Regions from separate parts of the Homo sapiens genome. Here regions 1, 2, 3, 4, 5 and 7 are each linked to region 6. Evidence: promoter capture Hi-C in 16 types of primary human blood cells and fetal thymus (Javierre and others, 2016). All regions are on one chromosome and are shown on one strand. Each heading gives the region's core, a stretch centred on a gene start or on the middle of the fragment in contact. The rest is flanking DNA. Distances are from core to core; before and after follow the strand shown.

Evidence for each region. The method cuts DNA at HindIII sites, captures the fragments that hold promoters and counts their contacts. A CHiCAGO score of 5 or more calls a contact.
Region 1: a contact is called between a fragment that was not itself captured here and the fragment with the promoter of DIS3 in region 6, in 4 of 17 cell types (total B cells, naive B cells, monocytes and 1 more). The highest score is 14.3, in total B cells.
Region 2: a contact is called between a fragment that was not itself captured here and the fragment with the promoter of DIS3 in region 6, in 3 of 17 cell types (naive B cells, total B cells and naive CD8 T cells). The highest score is 5.4, in naive B cells.
Region 3: a contact is called between a fragment that was not itself captured here and the fragment with the promoter of DIS3 in region 6, in 1 of 17 cell types (naive B cells). The highest score is 7.1, in naive B cells.
Region 4: the fragment with the promoter of SLAIN1 here is called in contact with the fragment with the promoter of DIS3 in region 6 in 1 of 17 cell types (non-activated CD4 T cells); the score reaches 8.5 in non-activated CD4 T cells.
Region 5: a fragment that was not itself captured here is called in contact with the fragment with the promoter of DIS3 in region 6 in 1 of 17 cell types (naive B cells); the score reaches 5.7 in naive B cells.
Region 7: a contact is called between a fragment that was not itself captured here and the fragment with the promoter of DIS3 in region 6, in 1 of 17 cell types (total B cells). The highest score is 5.6, in total B cells.

What each region holds. Positions count from the first base shown.
Region 1 is chr13:77,004,517-77,007,216 of GRCh38, forward strand. It overlaps CLN5 (CLN5 lysosomal BMP synthase), which reads left to right. Exons shown (of 4, transcript NM_006493.4): 4 at 1-601. It overlaps FBXL3 (F-box and leucine rich repeat protein 3), which reads right to left. Exons shown (of 5, transcript NM_012158.4): 5 at 744-2,700. The coding sequence ends at 2,629. Among named protein-coding and RNA genes, the nearest start is that of CLN5, 14 kb to the left of the region's middle. The HindIII fragment of the contact is 884 bases long and covers 900-1,783 here.
Region 2 is chr13:77,022,545-77,025,244 of GRCh38, forward strand. All of the region lies in intron 1 of FBXL3 (F-box and leucine rich repeat protein 3), which reads right to left. Among named protein-coding and RNA genes, the nearest start is that of FBXL3, 3.3 kb to the right of the region's middle. The HindIII fragment of the contact is 2,888 bases long and covers 1-2,700 here.
Region 3 is chr13:76,984,428-76,987,127 of GRCh38, forward strand. It overlaps the pseudogene DHX9P1. Among named protein-coding and RNA genes, the nearest start is that of CLN5, 6.3 kb to the right of the region's middle. The HindIII fragment of the contact is 307 bases long and covers 1,197-1,503 here.
Region 4 is chr13:77,696,408-77,699,107 of GRCh38, forward strand. SLAIN1 (SLAIN motif family member 1) reads left to right here and starts at 1,280. Exons shown (of 7, transcript NM_001242868.2): 1 at 1,280-2,132. The coding sequence starts at 1,507. MIR3665 (microRNA 3665) reads right to left here and starts at 1,709; the gene lies at 1,605-1,709. RefSeq lists silencers at 1,038-1,597, 1,798-2,037, 2,198-2,347. The HindIII fragment of the contact is 5,751 bases long and covers 1-2,700 here.
Region 5 is chr13:77,170,840-77,173,539 of GRCh38, forward strand. MYCBP2 (MYC binding protein 2) reads right to left here. Exons shown (of 83, transcript NM_015057.5): 38 at 653-795. Among named protein-coding and RNA genes, the nearest start is that of MYCBP2-AS2, 91 kb to the left of the region's middle. The HindIII fragment of the contact is 2,023 bases long and covers 356-2,378 here.
Region 6 is chr13:72,780,642-72,783,341 of GRCh38, forward strand. DIS3 (DIS3 exosome endoribonuclease and 3''-5'' exoribonuclease) reads right to left here and starts at 1,259. Exons shown (of 21, transcript NM_014953.5): 1 at 964-1,259; 2 at 205-362. The coding sequence starts at 1,191. PIBF1 (progesterone immunomodulatory binding factor 1) reads left to right here and starts at 1,492. Exons shown (of 18, transcript NM_006346.4): 1 at 1,492-1,708. RefSeq lists enhancers at 451-1,365, 1,283-1,392 and a silencer at 953-1,002. The HindIII fragment of the contact is 4,441 bases long and covers 826-2,700 here.
Region 7 is chr13:77,187,269-77,189,968 of GRCh38, forward strand. It overlaps MYCBP2 (MYC binding protein 2), which reads right to left. Exons shown (of 83, transcript NM_015057.5): 30 at 1,683-1,779. Among named protein-coding and RNA genes, the nearest start is that of MYCBP2-AS2, 110 kb to the left of the region's middle. The HindIII fragment of the contact is 4,220 bases long and covers 1-2,700 here.

The DNA of each region.
Region 1 (2,700 bases), core at 92-2,591, 4.2 Mb after region 6:
GAGTAAAAGGCTTTGTGCCCTTTTTAAAGTTGGGTGTCAGCAAGCAGCTGGAATTTTCCTGCCTGGTAAAATTAAAACCAGCCCCACAAACTGGGGTTGGAGTCTGTGCAAAGCTCATTACTATCTATGTGTGGGGTAGAAATTATAGTGTGTTAAAGGACCTAGTGTAAAAAAAAAAAATTTTAAAGGACCTAGTGGAGGCTTGAACCTTCTTCACATGAACGTCTTCCTTTCAGCCTAAAGTTCTTAAAATGCACTAAATTGACTTAATCTTCAATCATACCTATTTTTTCTGATATGGTTACAACAGCCCAAATTACCAAGATAAGTTGAAAGCCAGTAAAACAATGAAAATAATTTCAATAGTTGAAAAACTATTCTAATTTATATAAAGACATTTATCTCTAAAAAGACTGGTTGGGTTCAAGGACCCTTAAAGACTGATTCTATGTCTAAATAATCTGTTTTATAAGTTCTCATTCTGAATGCAGAAAGAACCTATTATTTTCTGTATAAAAATTTAAAAATTTATATTTCATGGTAGGTTTTAAATTTCCTATTTCTTTAGGCATCAGAGCTTATTTCAAGAATAGATTCCATGAGCCTAACCTTGTATCTTCAAAAAGGCGAGTCTATCATAAACATTGTTTAATATTAAATATTATATCCATCAAATATGGATTTGAAACATTTTTAAGTTTAAAGTCAAATGTTTGTGTAGTTTTTAAAAAGTAAAATACAACAGCATTAGTAACTTTTTATTCTCAAAGTGATAAAAGCATTTAACATATACTTTACAGTATAAACAAATTAAGTACTATGCATTTTGCTTATAAAGTGACAAAGTATTTTAAGCATTATATAATTCAATTTGTACAAAAAGTAAATTTCCAAATACAAGCTTTGGTTAGTAGAACTGATTATGTACTGTCAAATCCATTTTTCCAAAGTTGTTCAAGGAAAAACAACAACTTGACTAGCACAGGTAATTCTTGTACAATCAGAGCTTTTTACTATTTAGAAGGAGGGGATATATTACTATAATTGCTGTTAATTTTCGAATCTAGATAAGCCTTTTTTCTTCTCATATGTTGCTGTAGGAGAGCATATCATCACTTTTGGAAAGCAAAAATTATGTAGAAAATCACCTTTTGCTTTATTCTTAAGAAGGCCATCCGTTTTAAAAGTAGATCTAAGACTGTTAGCTTCCTCAACCACTGAGACACAATCTAAAAGTCACACCACTGAAAAGAGCCGCTTTAAGAATTAATGTATTCCACCGGGGTTAAATCATTTCTGATTTCCCTCAGGAGGGTAGTAATATCTACTAGCACTAGTGCCCAGCATCAAAGTTTATATCATCTTTTAAAACTCAACATTTTATAGACTCTACAATGCATGGATTACTTTTATTCATATGAAAGTAATATAAAATGTTACCTAACTTAAATAATATAAAATATCGGTTTAACCAAATTAACAATCACAAAACTGCAGACATTTTTCTATTAAAGTTTTCCAGTTCACTGAGCAATATTTACTGAAAAATATGATTATGAACTTAAATATGTCCTCTTTAAAATTTGCTGTTTATGCTAGACTGTACAATGGTGCTCCCTTTATGATTTTTAAAAATTTTACTTACATAACTATGTAATTCCAAAATAGAAAAGTGAGTGAGCCATCACTAAAATTTACTGGAAACTAATATTCTTTCATGGAAACAACTGATAAACATTTTAAAGTTCTATATTTATTTAAATTTGGCTTTTTAAAATAGGTAAGCTTTTCATTTCAATTATTGTTTAATACTTTAAAGCTAGTTTAAACAAAGATAAAACCAAGGAGAACTAGTAAAGCATTCCTTACTTTACATACAGTGCCTCAAGTGCCACATACATAATAACATATCACAAAAGAATGTATATGGTTTAGCAGATTACAGAGCAAACCTAAAAGTTTATACAAAGCTAAACACTGCCTCCCTTCTGTTCCATTTATTGTCTTTTAATTTGATCTTGGCTCTGTATTATCCTTCTATAATACCACTGTGTGACATCTATCAGTCTTCTAAGTGTTCTGATTACTTATATATACCTTTTTCTTTAAACAGCTTTGTAACATTTGAGAACATTCATCCAATCTTTTCCATTAGATATGATATATTCATTTTTCTCACAAAATGCTCACTTTCCTGAGCTATATTAAACACCTTATAACAGGTGTATGTGTAACTGAAGACCCTAAAATGTCAAGTTTACATTTTTTTTTAAATGCATAGAGAATATAACATTTCAGAAAACCTATTAGTACTTCTTGGATATTATAACATATAGGTTTTGTTTCCTTTAGACTGTAAACTGTTTAATACGTATAACTGGTTATTTCACATCCGAACCACATTAAAAAAAATTCGGAGATATGACTGCTATTACACTAAGGAAACAAGTGGAATTTTCTGACCAAAACTCATTCATGGGTCTTCCGATAAACAATCTTTACATATACTGACTGAAGATATCAAATTTCTGTGCCACAAAATAGTAGAATTATATCAGAACTACAGCAAATAAAACTTTAATTATAATACATTTGCTTGAAATTAAGGTGCTATTCATCATGCAGTTTTTACCAAGTGGGCATCATGTCGGGAAACCACACCCTACCAAGATGCTTGGACACTTCCCAGTGAATCTGCTC
Region 2 (2,700 bases), core at 42-2,541, 4.2 Mb after region 6:
TTTCTTCCTGAAATCACCCCCTGCCACGGACAGGCACTGGGCTATGCTATGTGTTACTGCCAGACATTTCTTAACTCCGCCTAAAATAAGCAAAACCACCCCTACTATGAATTGTTTGGTCTGGAATGTAGCTGCTTCTTCAAACACATCACTTAATATTGCACTGTTTTCCCCAAGTTGTGTTTCTGAATTATACCTATTTGTTTATTCTATGTATTCTTAGCACTTTCATTCCATTAGTTTCTTTGAAAGATAGTTTTTTCATGGCAAAACAGTATTATGGCTAAAGAGAATGGGCTCTGGAACCAAGCTCCTTGGGTTTGAATTCTGGCTCTACCTCTCACTGGCTATGTGGCTTTGAGCAAATTACTTGATATTCCTGTGCTTAAATTTCCAAAATTAGTTTAATAAAACAGGGTTTCTGTGAGAAATGCAATACTATTAAGGCTTTTCAAAGGGGAGATACGACTGTTGAACTGTTGAGATATGACTGTTGTGTAGGAAAGCAGTCCAGCATTAACGACATTAAAGTACACAACATGCTAAAAACCAGGGTTACTACCCAGAAGGCAGAGAATGATTCATTCATTCATTCCGTTCACTCATTCATTCATTCCGTTCACTCATTCATTCAAGATGGGGTCTCGCTCTGTCACCCAGGCTGGAGTGCAGTGGCACGATCATGGCTCACTGCAGCCTCGACCTCCTGAGATCAAGCAATCCTTCCACCTCAGCCTCCAGAGTATCTGCATGCACCACCACACCCGACTCTATTTTTGCTTTAAAATGGAGAGAGAGAGAGTGTGTGTGTGTGTGTGTGTGTGTGTGTCAGAGAGACAGGGCAAGTGAGCTTGTGTACGAGAAAACACACCCTGGAAGTAGACTCACTGAATTATTATAGTAACCAACAGTAGACGGCAGATTACAGGTAATTTTTTTTTCTTGCAAACATCTCTTCCCTTTTTATGTTTTACACATTTTCTTTTACTATCAATGCATTACCGTGTAATCGGACTTTTTGGAAAAGTATAGCAGGCTCTAAACTAAATGGCTGCAGACCACTCACTGGTAGTTACTTAGTTCAGAGCCTGTAATACTTTTGTTTCTAGAGAACAGTTCTGGCAGGGTAGTGGTTTCGACCTAAACTTGGGGTCACAATCTTTCAGAAAGATGGCTTGTTGCTCCAACACTCCTCTGGCCTATCAGCATAAAAGAATTTCTCATTCCTGTGTGAGATGAAGGATATGCATATGCATTACTGTAAAACAAATGTTTCTGCAGACTTTCTCCACCCAGTACCTCGCAAAACTTGTGAAAGAGGATTGAGGGCTGGAGAGTAAAAAGAGAATGGCAGAGGCCTCTGACCTTAATGCCATGAAAGTCAGTCAAAGACGTCTTAGCATATGTGCAATAAACTGCCTATTCTTCACTGCTCCTATTCCCAACTATGTGAATAAAATATATTACGTATACCCTACTGATCAGGGAGAGAACAAGAGAGAAAATAGAATGACAGAGGTGACAGCAAGAAGGTAGTCTGATGGAAGACTGGAAATTATGTGTGACTTGAGATTAGTTTTTTTTTAATAAGTTTAGAGAAAAGTGTATAGTCTACACTGTAATCTTTAATATTAAGTCTCTTCTAATAATAATCCCTCACTAGAGGCTGAGATAACACTGTTATTATGACCCATTTTTCTGCTTTAACTTACCCTGAAGGCTTACTTTAATTTTAGTATATAAAATTTGGGTCAAAGAACAAAGTGTTTGCTATCCAGAGCTTATAATTTCTCTTCTGACCACCTAAAACTACTCACAATTTTGAGATACAGAGATTCAAAAAAGAATGACAGTCTTTGCAATTTCTACACCTTATTATAGAATACTGATTGCCTGTTTCTGGAGAACAATCTTCTAAAACCAGAACTAGACAACTTAAAGACGGAATGATTCATTTTACTTTAGAGTATATGGATATATAAACAAAAATAAAATGGTAGCCTTATTCACATAATAGTCTTTGCTAATAAATACTTTGCTGGTCCTAAAAATAGAAACTTTCTTTTGTCTATTATAGTACTGTTTTAAATAAAATGTACTTAAATACCTTTCCAAGTTCAGGTTAAAGAAGTTGACAAAATTTTTTTTAACAGTATGCAACACTAAGGGACAGTATCTCTTGATCTAGATATAAAAACACTATATGATCACCAAAGCCTATTTTAAGAACTTACCAGTTTACAAATAGCTGAATTAAGTCTGTTAATTGTCATACGTAATATGTCTATGTTACAATTATAGTGCATTAAGCAATTGAAAAAAATGTAAGGCCAAATTCCAATAAAAATATCCTCTGCACTATCCTCATTTGTGCATGAAAATAACAGAAGTGAGTGGACACTTAAAATTTTAAATGTCAATTTTTCCAAGTTGATTTCATTTATGTATGAAAAAATTTACACTACTTTAATAGTATCTTATTAAATCTATTTACACATGAAACTCTGCTATACATAAAATTAAACATCTCAGAGCATCTTCCAGCCTGCAAATAATTTACATCAATGGACCCTATAATTCCTACTTTTGTCAAAGTGAAAACACCTCCTATATTTGAAAAGAAGTGTGGAGAACCAAGCTGTACTATAAAACGTCAATGAGACATTCTAGACTCTAGAAATCTAGAGCACCAAAACTAGG
Region 3 (2,700 bases), core at 100-2,599, 4.2 Mb after region 6:
CCAGCCTGGGTGGCAAAGTGAGACCCTGTCTCAAAAAGAAAAAAAGGAGTAGGAAATTAGTGTGTCTAGGGCCGGAGCTCTTAGGCAAACTGGTGAAGCCCCTTCTCAGAATAATGCTTTTAACGCCTAAAATAAAAAATGAGATTGTAAATGAGAAACTAAAAATTAGCTTGGACTTTAATCTGCCCTCGTATTCATTAGCCTGGACTGATAAAACCAGCCTCAAAATTACCAGAAAACAGTACTTCTCTCAAACCACAGTAAATCATAAAGTGTCATAACAACCTCCTTTCTTTTCTACTTAATTTTTTTTTTTTTGCCAAGTCCTTTATGGAAGTTGTTGTGCGTGTCTCTGTTGTCTTTGTGGAAGGCCAGAGCCACACGGTCCTAAGAGCTGGGAACCAGGAAGCATAGGCTGATCTGAAGAAGACACTTCAATCATGGGTGATATTAAAAATTTTCTGTATGCCTGGTGAGGCAAAAGGAAGATGACTCCATCCTATGAAATTAGAGCATTGGGGAACAAAAGTAGGCAGAAATTCTTGTGTGAGGTTCAGGTGGAAGGGTATAATTACAGTGGCATAGGAAATTCCACCAATAAAAAAGATGCACAGAGCAATGCTGCCAGAGACTTTGTTAACTATTTGGTTCAAATAAATGAAGAGTGAAGAAGTTCCAGCTTTTTGGGGTTGCATCTCTGCCCCCACTTACTGATATTCCTGACACTACAGCAAATGCTGAAGGAGGTTTACCAACAACCATGGGAGGTCCTCTTCCGCCACATCTGGCTCTCAAAGCTGAAAATAATTCTGAGGTAGGGGCCTCTGGCTATGGTGTTCCTGGGACCAAGGAGCCAACTTGAAGGATTACTACTCAAGAAAGGAAGAACAAGAAGTGCAAGCGACTCTAGAGTCAGAAGAAGTGGATTTAAATGCTGGGCTTCATGGAAACTGGACCTTGGAAAATGCTAAAACTCATCTAAACCAATATTTTCAGAAAGAAAAAATCCAAGGAGAATATAAGTACACCCAAGTGGGTCCTGATCACAACAGGAGCTTTACTGCAGAAATAACCATTTACATCAAGCAGCTGGGCAGAAGGATTTCTGCACATGAACATGGATCAAATAAGAAATTGGCAGCACAGTCCTGTGCCCTGTCACTAGTCAGACAACTCTACCATCTTGGAGTGGTTGAAGCTTACTTCAGACTTACAAAGAAGGAAGGAGAGAGAGTGGAACCTTACAAAGTAAACCTCTCTCAAGATTTAGAGCATCAGCCACAAAACATCATTTGAGAGCTAAATTTTGAGATTATGCCCCCGCCTGAAGATCCTTCTATGCCAGTTGCACTCAACATTGGCAAATTGGCTCACTTTGAACCATCTCAGTGACAAAACCAAGTGGGTATAGTTCCTCGGTCACCTCCACAATCCAGATGGAATCCTTGGACTACTAGCGACATTGCTGAGGGACCTCTGGCTTTTGCTTCTCCAGAGCAAATAAGCTTGGACCTCAAGAATGAATTGGTGTACCAGTTGGAACAGGATCATGATTTGCCAGCAATCTTGCAGGAGCGAGAGTTACTGCCTGTGAAGAAATTTGAAAGTGAGATTCTGGAAGCAATCAGTCAAAATTCAGTTGTCATTATTAGAGGGGCTGCTGGATGTGGTAAAACCACGCAGGTTCCCCAGTTCATTCTAGATGACTTTATCCAGAATGACTGACAGCAGAGTGTAACATTGTAGTAACTCAGCCCAGAAGAATCAGTGTAGTTTCCATGGCAGAGTGAGTTGCATTTGAGAGAGGAGAAGAGTCTGTAAAAAGCTGTGGTTACAGTGTTCAATTTGAGTCTGTACTTCCTTGTCCTCATGCCAGTATAATGCTTTGTACTGTAGGTGTGCTCCTAAGAAAATTAGAAGCAGGCATTTGAGGAATCAGTCATGTAATTGTAGATGAAATACATGGAAGAGACATTAATACTGACTTCCTTTTGGTAGTACTGCGTGAAGTTGTTTCAGCTTACCCTGAAGTTCTCATTGTTCTTATGTCCACTTCTATTGATACCAGCATGTTGTGTGAATATTTCTTCAATTGCCCCATCATTTAAGTGTATGGGAGGACTTACCCAGTTCAAGAATATTTTCTGGAAGACTGCATTCAGATGACCCACTTTGTTCCTTCACCGAAAACCAAGAAGAAGGACAAGGATGATGATGGTGGTGAGGATGATGATGCAAATTGCAACTTGATCTGTGGTGATGAATATGGTCCAGAAACAAGGATGAGCATGTCTCAATTGAATGAAAAAGAAACTCCTTTTGAACTCGTCGAAGCTCTCTTTAAGTACATTGAAACCCTTAATATTCCCAGAGCTGTGTTGGTATTTTTGCCTGGCTGGAATTTGATTTATACTATGCAGAAGCATTTGGAAATGAATCCACATTTTGGAAGCCATCAGTATCAGATTCTACCTCTGCATTCTCAGATTCCTTGACAGGAACAGCGCAAAGTGTTTGATCCAGTACCAGTTGGAGTAACCAAGGTTATTTTGTCCACAAATATTGCTGAAACAAGCATTATCATAAATGATGTTTATGTCGTTGACTCCTGCAAGCAGAAAGTGAAACTCTTTGCTACTCACAACAATATGACCAACTATGCTACAGTATGGGGATCAAAAACAAACCTTGAACAGTGGA
Region 4 (2,700 bases), core at 30-2,529, 4.9 Mb after region 6:
CAGGAAGACACAAAACCATATCTGAAACCAATAGATACGATGTGTTAGCAGCTCCAGAGAAATGAGGTACATTGTCACAAAGATTGGTATGTAAAGTCCCTAGCAAGGACTTTCACTAGATAGTATATCATCTGAGGATGAGAACCAGTGGTGTAGATTTTTCTCATAATATAATCTCAGGTTTTCCTCTGATTGTGTTAAACACTCAAAATGCTAAGTCAGTCAGTATTCATTGAACACAACTCGATTAAATTCTTCTGCTTAAAAGCCTCTTTTAAAAAAAGCAGATTTGCTCGTTTTCCAAGTGGTAAGAAATAGCAGGTTTGCAGGTGAGATTAAAGTGTATTGGGTAGAATTCTGAGGTTTTCTGTTTTCTGCTTTCCCACCAGCAAGTCTGACTTTAATAACTTACACATTATTTAATAGAAGGAGCACTAAACAATTTTACTCATATTTCTCCCCATAACCATTTTTGCCTATTGTACTCATTGCCCGCATCACGAGCTCTTAGAATGGTTCCTGGCACAGAGTAGGTGCTCAAAGATCTTTTGTTTGGGGAATGCATGAATATACATAGTATGAAAAAAAAAGCAGTTCTTCTTTTATTGTGACAAACAATGATGGTAACAGTTCAAATTTGACTATTTTAGAATAAATAAGTAAACACTTGTCTCCTTAGCAGCTGGCCACTCTACCTCTTAGAGAGAGGGCTTTCTTCTCTTTCTTCTCGGTCTCCTGTCTCCCACCATTTTGCTTCTCTATTACCAATGAGAACATGAGTGGCATGGTCCCAAAGCCTTTCTGTTCCCCCTATCTCCACTTTTCGGTTTTTAGAATAACGATCCCCAGCCTTTAAGTTTTCTATAGGATTCGTTAGCCAGTGGCTATTAAGTGCTGTCACGGAGCCTAACAGAGAGCTGGGAAGGGAGCAAACCAGCGGGCCGGTGGTGCACTACTCGAGGGCCAGCACCTGCAGCTGCTTCTTTGGGAACCCCCTGGTCCCCGCAACCGCCTCAGAGACCCGCGCAGTTCACTGTCCCACCAAGCGGCAGGAGGAGGTGCTTGTGGCGGGAAAGTTCAGGCCAGGTCCAATCAGGCCCCTGGGATTAGGTAGCGAGGGTGGGTGCGGCTCCCCGGCCCCAACCCGGGCTGCCGGCCCCGCCCCCTGGGTGGGCTTCCCCACGGTTCTCCGCCCCCCCCCCCCCACCCGCCCCCTCGGCGCTCTTGCCCCGCCCCGCTCCGGGGCCGCGGCTAAAACCCGGAGCCGCCGCGACGCCCAGGGGACTGGAGGGACGCACTGAGCATGTGCAGATCAGCTCGGTGGTGGCTGCCGCGGCCGGAGGCGAGGGCCCGGTGCTGATGCGAACCGCCGGCTCGGCCTCAGCCCGCGCGTGGTCGGCCCCCCAGGCCGGGGCGACAGGGAAGGAGCCGTAGCCTCCCCGTGGCCCGAGGAGCCGGCGCGGCGGCGCGCACTCCCCGGCGGCCGCGGCGCCCTCGGGGCCCACGATGATGGCGGAGCAGGTGAAATGCGCCTCGGCAGGGGTCAGCTCTGGAGCGGGCTCCGGGCCGGTGGTGAACGCGGAGCTGGAGGTGAAGAAGCTGCAGGAGCTGGTGCGCAAGCTGGAGAAGCAGAACGAGCAGCTGCGGAGTCGAGCGGCCAGCGCGGCCGCCGCCCCGCACCTGCTGCTGCTGCCGCCGCCGCCGCCCGCCGCGCCGCCCCCCGCTGGCCTGCAGCCTTTGGGTCCTCGGAGCCCCCCGGCCGCCACGGCCACCGCCGCGGCCTCAGGGGGCCTGGGGCTCGGGCTGGCGCTGGGCGCGGGGGGCGGTGGCGGCAGCGGTAGTGGCAGCGGCGGTGGCTCCAGCCCCGCGTTCCCGGGCACCTTCTGCCTGCCTAGCCCCGCGCCCTCCCTGCTTTGCAGCCTGGCGCAGCCACCCGAGGCGCCCTTCGTCTACTTCAAGCCGGCAGCAGGCTTCTTCGGCGCGGGCGGTGGCGGGCCGGAGCCGGGGGGCGCGGGGACGCCGCCAGGGGCAGCTGCAGCGCCGCCCTCGCCGCCCCCCACGCTGCTGGACGAGGTGGAATTGCTGGATCTGGAGAGCGTAGCCGCCTGGCGGGACGAGGACGACTACACCTGGTACTGCCTGGCTCCGCTCCTTCCCCGAGACCCTGGCCTCGGGGGCTTCGGGCACCGGGGAGCGGGGGCGGGGGGCGGACGGGGGTCCCCTCGCGGCAGCCGGGGTGACTCCCCGCGGCTCCCGGAGGGGCCGACCCAGCAGGTGTTGAGCCAGGCGGTGACACTTCCCACGATGAGGCTTCTCATGAAGGCAGAAACCTGTTTTCTAATCGCTCCGACTGCGGATGAACCGGCCCCCCCTTCCCCCCATCTGCCATGGGTTCTGCTATTTGCTGATTGTTGGGTCCCAAGCTCCTCGTTAGCATTAAGTGCAAAATCCATGTCATCTTGTCTTTTTGCTCAGTGCTGCTCTTTTCCCCAGTGTTTTCGGAGGGATGACGGGGGATGGTAGGGGTTGGCCTCTGTCTGCGACTGTTACTGTTCTTTCGTTTTAAACGAACGCTGGACAGGATTTGCGTGCTCTTCCTCCTCGGGTGGCATCGGAAGCCGCGCAGTGATGGATCTCTCTTTATAGAGAGGTTCGTTCTTGCTGTTTGAATTTTGCAGTCGTGTGCCCTTTTGCGTTGCA
Region 5 (2,700 bases), core at 117-2,616, 4.4 Mb after region 6:
GCTGGGATTACAGGCATGAGCCACCATGTCCGGCCATAACCATGTTTTCATAATGATAACTCTGCTGCCAGTGTGAAGAATAACTAAACAACTAGATGGAGAATGGGGGAAAGGCAGCAGTGAGATTATCGGGATATTAACCCTATATTAAAAAATGAAATGTACTTGCACCATGGCAGTCTAAATGACAGCAGGAGAAGAAGTGAAAGAGAGGAGAATACAAACTAGAGAGATTCCAATGGAAAAACTCATAGAGCTGAATTTAGACAAGTGCCTCTGAGGAGATGGTTAGGGTACCCCAGAGTTTTGGGTGGATAGCGATACATTACTGGAAAAAGAACAGAGAGGAAGAAAAAGCTTTTTGATTACTAAAAGAAGAATAAAGACCCAGTTTAACTCAAATACAATTTTTCTTTTACTAAATTAACTAAGAAAATAAGAATATATGGTAACTCCTTTTGAGCATTCTAAATAATTCTGCATTACAGTATGGAGAGTGTGACCTATCCAAAATTAATCCATGGGTGGATCTATAAATAACACTTAGATTCTATAAAATTGTATAATAGAAGGCTCCTCTTCAATAATTCTATGCAAAAATTTAGTGAATAAAGAATCTAAAATATGACTACTGAGAAAGAAAAAATATTACCATCCACAGCAAGAGCTCTGTGCAGGAGGTCCTTAGAGGCTCGAACGACAGTGCTTACAACAGACAATGCTCTGCTACAGTTTTTATCTTCTTCATTGGCTTTACTCAGAAGTTGGGATTGTAAATCTCCATCAAATTCACTCCTGTAGCATGAGCAAACATGAGATTATTTTACAATGGTAAGTAAAACATGATCCAGTGCCAGAAATCATATCTAGATCTGAGATCCTCATTTAATTTATAGCTTTTTAAAAGTTAAAAAAGTAAACATGCAACTATACAATAATAGGGAATGATAAGGGCTTTGAAGAAAAACAAAGCAGCATAGGGCATAAAGTGAAGGGTGTTATTTTAAATAAGATCAGTTCTCCGAGGAACTCATATTTAACAAAGACCTGAATTAATTAATTAAATTATTTACTTATTTGAGACAGAGTCTTGCTCTGTCGCCCAGGCTGGAGTGCAGTGGCATGATCTCGGCTCACTGCAACCTCCGCCTCCCAGGTTCAAGCGATTCTCCTCCCTCGGCCTCCCAAATAGCTGGGATTATAGGCATGCACCACCACGCCCAGCTAATTTTTCTGTTTTTAGTAGAGATGGGGTTTCACCACGTTGGCCAGGCTGGTCTCAAACTCCTGACCTCGTGATCCACCCATCTTGGACTCCCAAAGTGCTGGGATTATAGGAGTGAGCCGCGCACCCAGCTGACCTGAATTTTTTTTTTTTTTTAAAGACCCACGCGAAGAGCTGAGGGAAAACTGTCAGGGCAAAAGGAACATACTGGTGAATTAAAGGAACAGAATGAAGACATGTATGGCTGGAAGAAAAGGAGAAAGAGTGAAGCGTGATGGGTGGGAAGGGAAACAAGAGTCAAATTGTGTAAGGTTTGTAGGCCACATAATGACTTTACATTTTATACTGGTATGAGAATGGGAAGCTGGGTTTGGAGCAAGGGTGGAACTTGGTATGATTTATATTTTTATCAGATCACTCTGGCTGTGCTGTAGAGAACTGATTGTAGGAGACCAATAGTGAAAGGAGGGAGACTAGTTTAGAGGCTTATTACAGTTAGCAGGTAGAGGTTGCAGTGGCTTGGTCTAGACTATTAAATATGGAAGTAGAAGAAAAGGTCACATTTAGGACATTTTAGAAGTACAGCTGACAGGACTTCTTGATGAACTAGGTGTAAAGTATGAGGGAAAGAGAAGTCCAGAATGACTCCAAGGTGTCTGGCTGTAACTGTGGAAGGGAGATGAATATTCTAGCCACATGAAACCTCAGATGTCTACTAGCCAACTATAACGAACATCCTTAAAGAGAAAGTGCAGCATTCTGGTTAAGGGTGTATCACCTGAAATCTGACTTCCTGCCTACAAGTCGCAGTAGCGTAACTTAACAGAGGTGTGACTCTAGACAATTCAGCGTCTCAGTTCCATCATCTGTGAAACAGGGATAAGGAAAGTACCTACCTCCTGGGGTTACTGTGAGGACAAGGTGAAATAACACAGGTAACATACTCAAAGCATGTCCTGGCACACAGTAACTAACACCATCTCCACTAGTGTCATCCAAATGAAGATGTCAGAAGAGAGACCCGGAGTCCAGGGCTCAGAGGTCATGAAGGCTAGGGATGTAAACTTGGGAGCTATCAGAGCAGGATGGTATTTAAAACTAAAGGACTTTAACATTTTTCATTTATAAAAAATGTAAAGCTAAGGGTATTTAAAGCTTAATAGAAAACATGAAAATACTCAAAACACTGTATTTTGTATAAGATATAAAGTTTGGATGGCAGATGCTCTTAGTGGCTCTCCAGCTTTCTGAAACACGTAACTCTTACGCATAACAGAGTTTTTAATCCATAGTTTAAGAAAGAGAATAATGTACTATTTATTGTAGTGCTTATGTAACAGAAAGCTTTTCTTGACTGGGGCAAAAGACTAGACAGCTTTTGTATTTCAGCAGCAACAATGAACTACATAGCTATTTGCTGCCTGCTATTTCTATTCTATTTCTGATGGAAAGAGGAAGCAGAAAATCTATATCTA
Region 6 (2,700 bases), core at 9-2,508:
GGTTTTAGGCTTGAGCCCATCAATGCCTGTGTGACCTTAGAGAGATCCACTTAGCATTATCTTCTGCACAGCCATGTAAGAATTAAATAAGGTATGAAATCTATCACTTATCTTCTGACAATGTCATAAATTACTCACAGGAACCCTCTCCCGAATTTTGCTAATCCTGTGGTTTTCTGATATTTAACGTAATATTCCTCCTACCTATGGTGCTCATTAGTGAAAGTATAGAAATGCTTCTCTTGGTTATTAGTCACATCTCGGATGCGTTTATATACGGGGGCACTGCGATTTCTCACTTCTTGAAGAACTGTTTGTAGCACAATTACATTCCTGATGGCAGGGTCCTCAAGAACATCAATCTTAAAGAAAGATAAAGTTAATTTTTCCTATATTCATTTGTAAATAGCTCTGTCAAACATAAAATCCTGTTTTATGTTGGGCATAAATACTTTATGTTTTAAAAACACTGAATAAGTTAAGCCAAGAAGCTATTTGGCTATAGAAAACGAGACAATAGTCACTAAACCCTTCAGATCTATTAAAAAAAGCACACTTAAACAGACCAATCACAAGACTTCGTAGAATTAAGGGTATTAATAAAGGAATACGTTGGCCCACATAGTTTTTTGTTCCTAGGCACTTACAAGCTGCCTGGGAGTCGCAGGCTGGAGGCCACAGAAGCCCAGGTCCCCGGCCTCCAGGCACTTACAATCTAAGGCAGAAGAGACACCAGGAGTTAGAAAAATAACGTGTCTGAACTACGACTCCAAGAACTAAATTTTTTAAAGCACAAGGAAAAGAACCTCGGCCTGGGGAACAGGAAGCTTCGGTCCCGAGGGGGTTTCCCTTTCGCTAGGTATGTGACACTGCCAAAGACCCGCCTCCCTGGGCCTCAGTTTCCCTGTCATACCCCCTTGTCCCCGTGGGGCCGCGCTGTCCGCGGTTCGCCCGCCCACGCACCTGGTGCAGTAACACATTAGTGTCGGGCAGCAAGTAGTGCGGTTGCGGGCAGACGCTGCTCGCCGGGTCCTGGGGCTGCGGCTCCAGGGCCGGCCCCTCGTGCGCCCCTCCACACGCTGCGCACCCGGGCGCACCGCAGCCGATGTCGTCTCGCAGGTAGTGCTCGCGCACGATCTTCATCACGCCGCCCGCCCGGGTCTTTTTTAAGAACGTCTTGGACTTGAGCATCTTGCCTCGCCGCGCAGAATCCTAACCCCAGCAGCGCTCTTCCAGCAAAAGGCGTCAATCTAGAATACGCCTAACCCCGGAGGTTCTTCCCTTTCCATTCCCGGATATTAGTAACACTTCTCGCGGGAAAATGCCGAGATAAACATTGGTTGGCTCTCTGACGGCCGCGGGGATTGGGCGAGAGTGGGGAGGGGCGGCAAAGCAAGGCGAGGAGCCATTTCCGCCCGTGGCCTAGGCGGGGCTTCCTTCTGGACGCCACCTCACAACGTGTGTTGCTTTCCGCTCCTCGGAACATCCGGGAGAGTTGACTTCCGGCGGCTTGTGGGAGTGCTGGTTCTGTCCTCCTTGCGGGTGCGGAGATGGTTGTCTTGGTTACGGGTCCTAACGGTCCCCTGCCTTGAAATCCCTTGTTGAGGGCCTGCAACCTTGTGCTTCCGACCGGAGACGCCTTTGGTCCCTCGGTGTCTGCACTGGCTGCTGGTCAAGGCTTCAGTGTGGAGTAATTGACACTTTCGAGGTAACTTGCGACTATCATCGCTTTCTTTCCCGCGTGGGGCAAGGAATCCCCCGAGCTGCCAAGTTTGGGGCTTAATTTTCACGCCGAGTGTATAGGCAGTCCCCGTCTCGGGCCCTTTGTAATCGAGGAGAGAATTTGTCTTTGAATTCACTTTTTCTTACCTATTTCCCTTCAAAAAGAAGGAGGGAGGCCGATCTTAGTATAGTTCTCGCTGTTTCCCCTCCACACACCTTTCCTTATCATTCAGTTTAGAAAAACTGAAATATTTAATAGCATAATTTGTTATATCATGAGGTATTAAAACAAGGTAGTTGCTAACATTCTTATGAGAGAGTTAGAAGTAAGTTCTATTTAGAATTTCTTGAATTTTTCTTATATCCTGTTGTTTTCATTCTGCTATCTATAAAAAATGTTTTTGTCCCCGTTTTCCCTATTTAAAACATCTTCAATGATGCCTCATTGCCTGTAGAATAAAATCCAACCCTATTTTGACATTTAAGGCCTTCCAGTCTTGATCGTTAAGGGCGTGTGTGTGTGTGTGTGTGTGTGTGTGTGTGTTTGTGTTTGTGTTGGGGGGGCGGTGAAAGGAGTAACTATTCCAAGACTTGGCTTTGTTTTTTTACTTCCACTTACGTATCATTAATAACTGCATGATTTCTCCTTTTTACCATGCCTGTCCAAATCTTTAAAGATTCTAAGTGCTACCTCTGTGTAACGTTTCCCTGACCAACTCAGACGTGATTTCTGTTATCTTTGAGCATGTGTTGGTTTTAGTGGTGCCATTCTTGATTATAATGGGCTTTTTTCTTCATCTTGTACATTTCTTTGTTTCCTCCAAGTAAGATTCCTCCCCGCAGGAACTGTTTTTTTAAGTTTCTCGAAGGCTGACTTCATATTAGGAATTAATGTGTTTGATTTGAGCATTAACTTAACTGCAATAATCTGTTCTAGATTTGGGATGCACTAAATTGCCTAATATTTATTTAAGGAAT
Region 7 (2,700 bases), core at 34-2,533, 4.4 Mb after region 6:
TTTGAATCAAAAGATACCAAACTCAACTTAAGACTAATAGGATGCAAAGTTACCAAGAAGCCAAAGTTCTCATAGTCTTTTATTCAAAGCACAAGCTCTACAAACTGCCATGGCTCTTTTGGAAGGTCAACTTTGAGAGGATATACCAAACTTTAAATGGGCATATTTCCAGTAGAAGTATGCACATAAGTACACAAGTATTTAAAGATGTATGTGTATAGATGCTCATGAAGCAAGATGAAATAACAAAAAATGAGAATCAAAGTGGTTCTTTGATAGATATCAGATTGAATAAATTAGAATAATGGTACGCAAACGGAGAAGACTGACAGAGCCAAATGTACTGCCAGGGAAGGATGTCCATGATATATAATACGAAATTTTCTAAAAAAGATGAAAACTGTAAGTATCGTAAGAAACAAGCAAGCATGTTGTAGAGCATCCTGTATTTGATACGTACTAATAAGTTTTTTTGCATATAAAAATGGTCTGGGAAGGCCGGGTGCGGTGGCTCACACCTGTAATCCCAGCACTTTGGGAGGCCGAGGCGGGTGGGTCATGAGGTCAGGGGTTCGAGACCAGCCTGTTCGAGGTCAGGGGTTCGAGACCACCACCAACATGGTGAAACCCCCTCTCTACTAAAAATACAAAAATTAGCTGGGCGTGGTGGCAGGCGCCTGTAATCCCAGCTACTCAGGAGGCTGAGGCAGGAGAATTGCTTGAACTCAGGACGCGGAGGTTGCAGTGAGCCAAGATCGTGCCACTGCACTCCAGCCTGGGCGACAGAGCGAGACTCTGCCTCACCAAAAAAAAAAAAAAAAAAAGGTCTGGGAAGATACACACCAAAATGTAAATAGTAGGTATATATGGTGATCATGAGAATGGGAGAAAAATCTTTCATATACTTTTAGGATACTTTTATCTCATTCCTACCAGGAATATATATTCACTTGGTGGGTTGAAAAATAAATTTAAAAGGGAAAGAAACATTCTTCCTATGCATTTTACTAATATGAAAGACTACTAGCTATATTAATAAATCACATTCAGATGGTGCCTTACAGTTCCAAAAACATCTTACACCCCTTATCTCATTAGAAATTCAAAATGCTATGATGTAATTTACTTAGGTAACATACGTAAGAATCCTCAATTAATACATGAGAGATCAAGACCTTAATTTATACTTTCATTTATTTACATCATGTTGACTTTCCATTCTGCACTGTTAACCTCAATGGCACTGTGCTTCTTCATGTGTACAATGGGGATGGCAAGTGGTTCAACAAACTTCCTAGTTAGATATGCAACTCTTCCACCTAGTTCCTCAAGTAGTAATCACGCTTTTTTGGGCCAGCACCATCCTTAACTTTTCCTTCATTTTCTAATTCATTCAGCATATGCATTCATATATGATTTACTAGAAAAGCAAATCGTTATTTGTTTCAAAAACAGCAAGGCCAATTCATCTGGTCATGTTAAAATCATAGGCCAACACCTCCATTTTTCTATGATTTAAAGTATACTTTATCTGTGGTCTAGAATATAAATGTGAATACAAAACCAAATCTGAGTTTATAAATCTAGGCTAAGATAAACTTACAAGAGCAGCTAAACTCTAAACATCAAAATGTATCTGAGGACTGAAGAGAAAAGCTGAAATTTTTTAAAACATGGCTTACCACTGAGACAGTTCTTGCAAAAGACCTCTTTAAAATGTGTACAGGTTCACTGGTTTGCTGTTTGCCTTTTGAAGCACTGCCATCACTGGTTGGAAGTCTAAAGGCAGTAGACACATATAAAATTATGTTAGAAAGTCCAATGTCATTTTTTCTTTTTAAAGTATATTATACATTTTTGAATGGGAAAATAAATTATATATTTAAATTTTTTTGCCAGGTAATGCCAATACAGGGCTTTTTTGAAACATTTTTCCAAGCTAAACAAAGTTTTTAGCATATGGGCACTTCCTTTAAATCCTACCTTCGCAAGACCGAGTAGTAGAGGCTTTTTCCTCTTCTTAGAGAACATATATAATGTATATAACATATAACTTATATTCTCTAGTAATGCTACTATTAATGCTGTTATTTAAAAGTTATTCAACCAGTGAGTACCTGGGAGTAGTCCAATGCAACACGTTATGTTTGTAGAGCTACATATTACAAACAGTAACTATAACAGATTGCACGGTGCATAAAAACCAAACAAACGAAAAAACCTTTTGGGGAAAAATAATGTTTGTAACCACAAAGTGATTACCAGAAAGAAAGATAGGGAGATAGAATCACAGTTCTAGACCATTTCCTTTGATTTTTTACTGCTTAACGAATGACAACATTTTTCAGTAACGGTTTATATCCATTTGAATTCTTTATTCTAAAAGTATTGCAGTAGTCTAGAAATAAATAAGGTAAACACAGGCATATGCCTTTATACATGCTTAAATTATTGTAAGTTAAAATTTTTCAATAATGTTAAAAATATAGTAAATATTATATGAGCAAGTTATTATTTGGTATTTTAGCTAAAGGTGAAAATTTACCAACAGTAGGGAATTTTCCAACTCATTTTATCAGTCTTATGAGACTACAATATATCAACCAGGCCTGCATCTATAGTCCTCCCCATCTTCCCTGCAATCTCACTTCTCCAAGACAAATTTTATTCTTTTACAACATTTGAAATTAGTAAGAAAAT